Linked DNA regions of Homo sapiens: region 2 is linked to region 1. The links are contacts of gene promoters, found by promoter capture Hi-C in blood cells and fetal thymus (Javierre and others, 2016). All regions are on one chromosome and are shown on one strand. The core of a region is centred on a gene start or on the middle of the fragment in contact, and the rest is flanking DNA. Distances in the headings are between cores, read along the strand shown. Region 1 holds the start of NEB (nebulin). Region 2 overlaps CACNB4 (calcium voltage-gated channel auxiliary subunit beta 4).

Region 1 (4,179 bases), core at 1,680-4,179:
TATAATGTAAAAAATGATAATAGTAAAAATAATAATAGCTAACATTTACTGAACACTTACCATGTGCAAGGCATATAATAAGAACCTACCAATAAATCAGGGTGCCAATGTACTGTCGTTCCACAGAAGAGGTCATAGATAGGCCAGGAAAATAAAGCTGTTCTTTCATCTCTAGAGGGCATCATTCCAGATTAGAATCTGCAGAATTTAGTAAGGAGGTGGCAGTGTTTTTCTCTAGTGTGACTAGGAGGTAAATATAAGCTGCTTGCTGGTTCACTCACCCCTGTGTAACCATGGTAGGAATATAACCAGCTCTCCTGTGAGTCTCTTACTTCTGATGGCTTTGCAAATTATTAGGGCAACCTGCAGCAGGCCAGTTTAGCAGGGGCTTTGGGGCTTTCTTTTAGGAGGAATTTATCCCAAGAGATCTAAGCCAGGGTAATTTCATGTGAACTCACTCTTGCCCCACCCCCCACCCTAACTTTTTAGATGCACACTTCATTATGAATGGAGTTTGAGGTTCTGCTCATCTGTAGCACTTCTATTTACTATCATAGTGGTTTCAAAAGTAATGTATAAAGAGTGTCTTAGTCCATTTGGTCTGCTATAACAGAAATAATATAAGCTGGATGGCTTATAAACAGAAATTTACTTCTCATAGTTCTAGAGGCTGGATGTCTAAGATCAGGGTGCTGGCATGGTTGGGTTCTAGTGAGGACTTTCTTTCAGGTTGTGGCTGGCCATCATCCCCCTGTAACTTCACATGGCAGAGAGAGTGCCAGGCAGCTCTCTGGGGCCTCTTTCATAAGTGTACTAATCCCATTCGTGAGGGCTCCACCCTTATGACCCAATCACTTTCCACACATCGGGGGGTAGGACTTCAACATATAAATTTTGGGGGGACACATTCAGCTCAGATAGTAATGATTTTTCAGTCTAATAATCCCTAAGGATATTGAGATGTGTATACATAGGAACCCTCATTCTCTGTTAGTGAAACATAAAATAGTGTAAGGATTTTGACTGGCAACTTGACAATATCTATCAATTTTCAAAATGTGCATATATCTTCTGCCTCAGTATTTCTATTTCTAGAAATTTACCTTACAGATACATTTCATATAAGTATACAAAGGTAATGTACAGGGATGCTTACTGTGTGTTTTGTTTCGCATTGTTTTGCTTTATTTTGTAATAGCAAAAACCTCGAAACAACCTAGATGTCCATTAATAATGATTAAACTATTATACTCTATCCAATCAATAGAATTATTTGTGGAAATTAGAGTAGGATATGTTTATGTGATGTTTCATAAAAATGTCTATTGCATATTAAGTATATCGATTTATGTCAATATCTATATTGAAAATATCTGAAACTTAAAAATGACTAAGAAGGTCAATGCTCATTTTTTACTTTATATAATTTTGTACTCTATGTTTTTAAAGTATGGGCCTGTATTATTTTTTAATTCAACAACACATTTTAAAGCATGTAATGACTAGTAAGTCACAATTCTAGTTTGCAGCTACCAAGTGAGTGATCTCATATTACATAAATATCCTTTGGTCATAAGACCTGTGAGAACATACAAGATGAACAGGTATAATCAGTTAAGATGATAAAATTCTGTTAGATTTTATTTACTACCATGTGAATCATGGAGGGGGAAAAGGTACATGTATTTGAAATATGAGATTACTTTCTCAAACTCCTGGCCTCAGACAATCTGCCCGCCTCGGCCTCCCAAAGTGTTGGGATTACAGGCGTGAGCCACCACGCCCAGCGAGATTACTTTCTAATGTTTAACTTAAAAAAGAAAAAATATTACAATATGTTTAATCTCAAATCCATATCAAGATATAGGTGACTCACAGGGTTTTGCCTGAATACAGGAGCAACCCAGAGAAAGAGCAGTTCTCTGTCACATAAGAGCCTGTGATTTCTGTCGCTGTGTGTAAGGACAGACAGACAGACAGATAGAATTAGATTTTAAATTAGAAAAAATACTTCAGGAGCAAAGAAAGTGCAAGAAAGACATCAGGCAAGTTTTAAGAAAATGGTTAGATAATTTTTATGAAGGAAATGTCTTACGTTCGGATTTGCCAAATAGGGCATTATTTTCTCCTGATAAGTTACTGATTTCCATGTTATCTGCTCTTGCTGTTCAGAAATTGAGCCTGTTTGTGTCCGCATTCACACGTTGCTTCTGGGAGCCAGGAGTCATCTGAGTTAATAGAAAAATCACTAACTCGGTTACATATGAGAGAGGTTCTGTATTCCTAGCAGCTTGCCTTATCTAAGGAGGGAGAAGGTGCTAAATAGGATTTTGGTATACCCTCTTGGTTTAGTAACAGAAAAATGATGGGGTCTAATCTTTCTAATTACACCCTGTGGATATCTTATTTAGTGCCATTGTCAAATATTTTCACCTTTAACTTCACTCATCACATTTTTAAAAATTGCTTTTGTCAACTTGATGTTTACTGGGTCTTATTCCTCAGTTTCTTTCACACTAGCACCAGTAACTTACCTGTAGCTCACCTGGTGAACCTTACCAGAGTGAGTACATTTACCACCATGACTGGACAAATGACATGAAGAAAGCAGTCACGGAAGGGTTAAAGCCTCTCAAAGTCATGCTTATTTTCTACTAAATTCTTTTGCATGAATATGACATTGAATGGGGCCTCAGTAAATGGGAAATTCAACCTAAAATTGAACTGCACAGGCTGGAAGTTAGGTAAAATTTGATTCCATTTGAATTGTTCTAAGCAAGCAATTTGTTACCCTTTATCCTTTAGTGGAATTGATGAACAGGTGGTTTTCAGAAGATCACTTGGTAAATTTAGCTTCTGAAATTTGAGCAACTCAAGATCTGATTGGTTGCTCTTGCCACATGATAATTCGGAGCCCAGGCATCACGCTGGCTTTTGCCTGGGGTTCTCAGGAGGGGAGAGTTGGGAGAGGCTTTGCTGCTGAGGAAATTTATTTGGTAGATTGAAGGTAAGGCCAGTTTATGACTTTTTCTGTAATACTCTTTCAGGAGATGCTCCACAACTTCCCTCGAAGTATTTTTCAAAGGTTTGGGCCATAACTGAGGAAATTAGTGGTAGAAATATGGCTAGGAGAGTTTAACCCCATTGCCCTACTAAGGCCCTACTAATATCTGCTATGTACCGTGTGTGATTAGAGTCAAGTCCTTTGCTAACCAATTTATTGCTTGACTGAATTGGCTCTCTTGTCTAACATTTTTTTGCCTTTGATATTTTTCTCTAAATATATTAGTGTGAAAAAGAAGATACGCTGCTCTACGTTCCTATATTTATCCTGTTCTACTGGGCTTCATTTGCCTGAGGAGTGGCAGTTTCGCTAGCTTAACAAAACCAGCCACTGCAGGGTATTGGTTTACATGGCAAACATCTTTGGATGAAGGGACAGCTGTTCCAACTCATCATCCACTTCATATCAAGAGTCTTACTCTCTGGCGTCAAACTGTAGAGGCCTTGAGAGATCCTTTCGCTGTTTTCTGCATTAGAAGCTTAGGCTAAGGACTGACAATCCTATATGTACCTCAATCAATGCTTTACAACTTTGTTATTTTTCAGGTTTGAACGAGAGCTACAGAAACGAAAGAAAAAGTCTGTATAAGCCAATGGTGTTCGGGAAGAAAATAACCCCATTGCCTTGAGGTTTCTTTTTTTCTTTTAAAATTTATTGACAGATGTATTTTTATGGGTTCCAATTTGAAGCCTAAGATATATTGCAAACAGTGGATCAGGGCAGTATGGAAAACTAAGTCAGCCCTCTTAGAATTTTGGTGCTGGGGGATAAATTTCAGCTTCTTCTGAAACCCAAGCTGACCTTTCACTAAAATTTTTGCTGGAAAATGTCTTTTCTCTAAGTGTTTGGAAGTTTAAATTCTCTGTTCCCTGAGTCCAAACTCTCTCACTTCCTTACCTCAATTTCGTTTTACAATTTTAACTAAACTGATTATGTAGAAGTAGCAATTCCCAACACTGAAGGAATAAAGAGAAAGAAATTTGAAGCTTCTGCTGTTTATACTTGTATTTTAAATGTCTTCTCTCCTTTAGCCTGCAACAATATATGAATTTGTACAATAGTTTAGCTTCAAATTCTATTTTTATAATGTCATAAGATAATTTCTGTGCTGGGAA
Region 2 (4,179 bases), core at 977-3,476, 290 kb before region 1:
GTTTTTGACCAACAGATTGCTCATTTGGTCTCAGCCTTGGTCAGATTCCAAGGAAAACAAATTAAAATAATACTCCCTTCTTCTTTCGCAGAAAGACAAATTTAAATGATATGGTTATATATAATCATTGTGATAACATGATTACATGATTATATCATTATCTAGAAATCATATAGGTTAAGTATTGAAAGGTGCAGTTATGGAGAGATTTGTCCACAGGCTACAGTAGAACTAGTTAGGCTTGTGCTGTTACACACGAAGGTATCAGTGGGTGTCGGGAGAATTCATGTTGACTCATTCGGGGCACATGTAAATCTGGGCCCTGATGAAGTACTTGTTCATGTTCCACTTCCATATTTTAGGTAATTTAAATTTTGTAGTGCAGCTTTTCCCAGTTGTGTCCTTTGCTGGTCTGGAGATGGCAGTAATCATGAACAAATCCACAACCCTTTGGTTCAGTATCCATCATCTGAATTCCTGGGGTTCCCAGTCCTAAATTGTTGCTTTGAGTTTAGAGGGGATTGTAGGTCATGCCCTCTTTGCTCTTCCCTCATCCCCTCATTTGATTAGGTTTCTGCTCAGGCGATCCTTGTCTTGTGATTGCCCTTGTAGAAGGGAGCAGGTGTCAACCTCTGACCTAAAATTTAGTTGTGATATTGAGGCTGAGGGTGCCACCTGTGCACTAAGAAGGTATAAAAAGATCTGTTACTCACAAATCGAAGCTCTCTGAGGAGAGCTGGGCAGGCTCTCAGGCAGGTTAGAAAATGGCTTGAGAGCCTCAAGGGCAACTGGCTTTGGCTTTTTTTTTTTTTTTTTTTTTTTTGAGACGGAGTCTCACTCTGTCGCCCGGGCTGGAGTGCAGTGGCAACAATCTCGACTCACTGCAACCTCCGCCTCCCGGGTTCAAGCGATTCTCCTGCCTCAGCCTCCTGAGTAGCTGGAATTATAGGCGTGCGCCACCAAGCCCAGGTAATTTTTGTATTTTTAGTAGAGACTGGGTTTCACCGTGTGGGTCAGGCTGGTCTCGATCTCCTGACCTCGTGATCCGCCCGCCTCGGCTTTGGCTTTTATGGTGGTCAGTGGTTTGGGCTGGGGCCAAAGCTTGTGTGGTTTGAGCTTCCCACTGGAGCCAAAGAGGTAGCACATGGCTTTCCTGTCACTTCCCTTGGTGTGAGTCAGGAGGGGAGGTGGCAGGGGAGGAGCTTGAAAACTCAGGGAGGCTTTCCTGACCATAACTTGTGAATACCTGATTTTATATTTAAAATCTATCTAATTACAGTTTCTTCTGCTAGATTGTAAGCTCTTTGATTTGTTCAGCATCCAATTTCCACAGCTGAGAACTGCCCCAGGCAGTCAGAGGCTCTCAGTAGATATTTGCTGAAACAATACAAAGGAGATGAAGGAGTGGCCAGAAAAATGGGAGGAGGTGCCTGAAAGCCAACAGAAGAAATGATTCTAAGAAAGGAGGAATGTGGCTGGGAGCCCTGGCTCACGCCTGTAATCTCAACACTTTGGGAGGCTGAGGTGGGCGGACCACCTGAGGCCAGGAGTTTGAGACCAGCCTGGCCAACGTGGACCCTGTCTCTACTAAAAATACGAAAATTAGCCGGGCATGGTGGCATGTGCCTGTAATCCCAGCTACTGAGGAGGCTGGGGTAGAAGAATCGCTTGAACCCAGGAGGTGGAGGTTGCAGTGAGCTGAGATTACACCACTGCACTCCAGCCTGGGTGACAGAGTGAAACTCCGTATCAAAAAAAAAAAAGAAAGATAATTGTGTCAAATGCTGTCAATGGGTCAAGTTAGATGAGCCCAAGATTCCCCAATGGACTTAACAATATGGATACCATTGGTGACCTCAGTAAGACCAGTTTTGGTCTGGAGTAGTGAGCAGAAAAGCCTTATTGGAATGGGTTCAAGAGAGAATGGAAAGATTGAAGTTAGAGTCAGTTAATATGGACAATTCTTCTAGGTACTATAGCAGTAAAAGGGAGTGGAGGCCGAGTGCAGTGGCTCATGGCTGTAATCTCAGCACTTTGGGAGGCCGAGGCAGGCAGATCACCTGAGGTCAGGAGTTCGAGCCCGGCCAACATGGAGAAACCTCATCTCTGCTAAAAGTACAAAAATTAGCTGCGCGTGGTGGCATGCACCTGTATTCCCAGCTATTCAGGGGGCTGAGGCATGAGAATCGCTTGAGCCCAGGAGGCAGAGGTTGCAGTGAGCAGAGATGGCACCACTGCACTCCAGCCTGGGTGACAGAGCGAGAACCTGTCTCAAAGAAGAAGAAAAAAAAAAAAAGGGACTAGAGAAGTGGAGCCCAGAGAGGGTTTTTATTAATATGATAGCATGTTTATATGTTGACGCTGATGGAAACAGTCCAGTGGAAAGGAAGACGCTGAAGATTCAGGAGGGAAGGAGGAAAATTGCTGGGGCCCTGTCCTGGAGTAAGATCCAGTGCTCGAGTGGAAGGGCCGGTCTGTAAGGGATTTGGTCAGTTTGTTCACAACAACGAGAAAAGGCAGAGTGTGTGAACCCACTGCAGGTAAGAGGGGAGATGTGGTTCACTTCTGGTAGCTCCTAGGAAGCTCTGTGGACATTCATGCCAAGTGACTTGTGGTGGCCTCGGCCCTGCGCCTCCAGAGGTGTCGGCTGCATCAGCACCTGCAGGGGGCGCCCTGTGCACGTCCTGTTCTCACATCCTCTTTACTAAACACGGAGATAGATGGAGCAACCCTCCCGCTGCAAACACAGCTCTTCACAGCTCTGACGTTTTTCTACTATACTGCAAACACATCTGTAATCACATTTAAAAATAAATCCACACAAGAAAAATTCACTGTTTCTTGTATAACAAGTGTAACTGTGACTTCTGAGACAACGCTGAACATTTTCTGAAATCTTGTCAAAAACCACACGGGGGCACTATTCCTTTAAAATACACAGTACGGTATGTCCAATTTTGATGACTGAAACAGTGGCATCTTTGAAGTTCAATTTCCTGAAGTTTATTTTCCTTTTAGAAGAGAGGCTGTTGTGTCACAATAACAAAATATTTTCTGTACTTCATAGATGATTTGAGATATTCCAAACTCCTAGATTTTTTATTTAATCTGGCCCCTGGGCAATCATTCTTTTAGTGTTACAGCCACTTCCTTTGCATTTAAGGCACAATGCATATTTGTCTTATTTCTGCTCTTTCTTATGCTTACAATAGAGGCTGTGAGCTAGCAGCGAGTCCAGTTTGTGCTCATATCTGGAATAAGGTTGTCTGAAGTAGACAGTTTGAGAGAAAATGTCGTTGTCTTTCTTGGTTCTCATTCCACCGTTCCCCAGCTCTCGCCTCTGAAGCTTGAGCTATTACACTTTTTATGACAGGAAAGAAAAAATTAAGTCTTTTGAACAATTTCCTGTTTTCAGGAAAGCTATCAAACTTAATTTACACATATGAAAGAAGAGGTTTCAGAGGTAGTGTAGGATTAGGAGAATAGAATTTGCTCACTGTCTAGCAATAGATAAGCTAGTATTTGCAAATAATTTAGCCAAAATGACAAATTAGTTGAAAGTTAATATCGGGCCTCAGATTTCTGGTTTTGCAAAATTTATTTATTATTTTTATTTTTTTGAGACAGAGTCTCACTCTGTTGCCCAGGCTGGAGTACAGTGGTGTGATCTTGGCTCACTGCAACCCCTGCCTCCCAGGTTCAAGTGATTCTCCTGCCTCAGCCTCCCGAGTACCTGGGATTACAGGCACGTGCCACCACGCCTGGCTAATTTTTGTATTTTTAGTAGAGATGGAGTGTCGCCATGTTGGCCAGGCTGGTCTTGAACTCCTGACCTCAGGTGATCTGCCCACCTTGGCTTCCCAAAGTGCTAGGATTACAGGCGTGAGCCACCACGCCTAGCCCTGGTTTTGCAATATTTAAATGTGTGATGCCCACCATATTGTTGCAAACAATGGCAAGTCCCTAAGGGTGTAGCAGCCTTCCATTGTGTAATGATTTGCTTGTGGGGAAATATACAATGATGCTGTGGATCCCTATCATAGTTGGTATGCTATGTTAGTAAGCAACTATTGGGGCAAGTATTTCTTACTGCTTTGTTTCACAATTCAAAGCCAAAGTAATACATAATCTTTTAGTGCCATTTTTTAGGGCTATCCAATAAGAAAATTACATTGTTGT

The links. The method cuts DNA at HindIII sites, captures the fragments that hold promoters and counts their contacts. A CHiCAGO score of 5 or more calls a contact.
Region 2: a contact is called between a fragment that was not itself captured here and the fragment with the promoter of NEB in region 1, in 1 of 17 cell types (M1 macrophages). The highest score is 5.6, in M1 macrophages.

What each region holds. Positions count from the first base shown.
Region 1 is chr2:151,733,226-151,737,404 of GRCh38, reverse strand. It overlaps NEB (nebulin), which reads left to right and starts at 2,929. Exons shown (of 182, transcript NM_001164508.2): 1 at 2,929-3,007; 2 at 3,610-3,693. The HindIII fragment of the contact is 3,549 bases long and covers 1-3,544 here.
Region 2 is chr2:152,024,497-152,028,675 of GRCh38, reverse strand. All of the region lies in intron 2 of CACNB4 (calcium voltage-gated channel auxiliary subunit beta 4), which reads left to right. Among named protein-coding and RNA genes, the nearest start is that of CACNB4, 72 kb to the left of the region's middle. RefSeq lists an enhancer at 2,476-2,545. The HindIII fragment of the contact is 2,245 bases long and covers 1,104-3,348 here.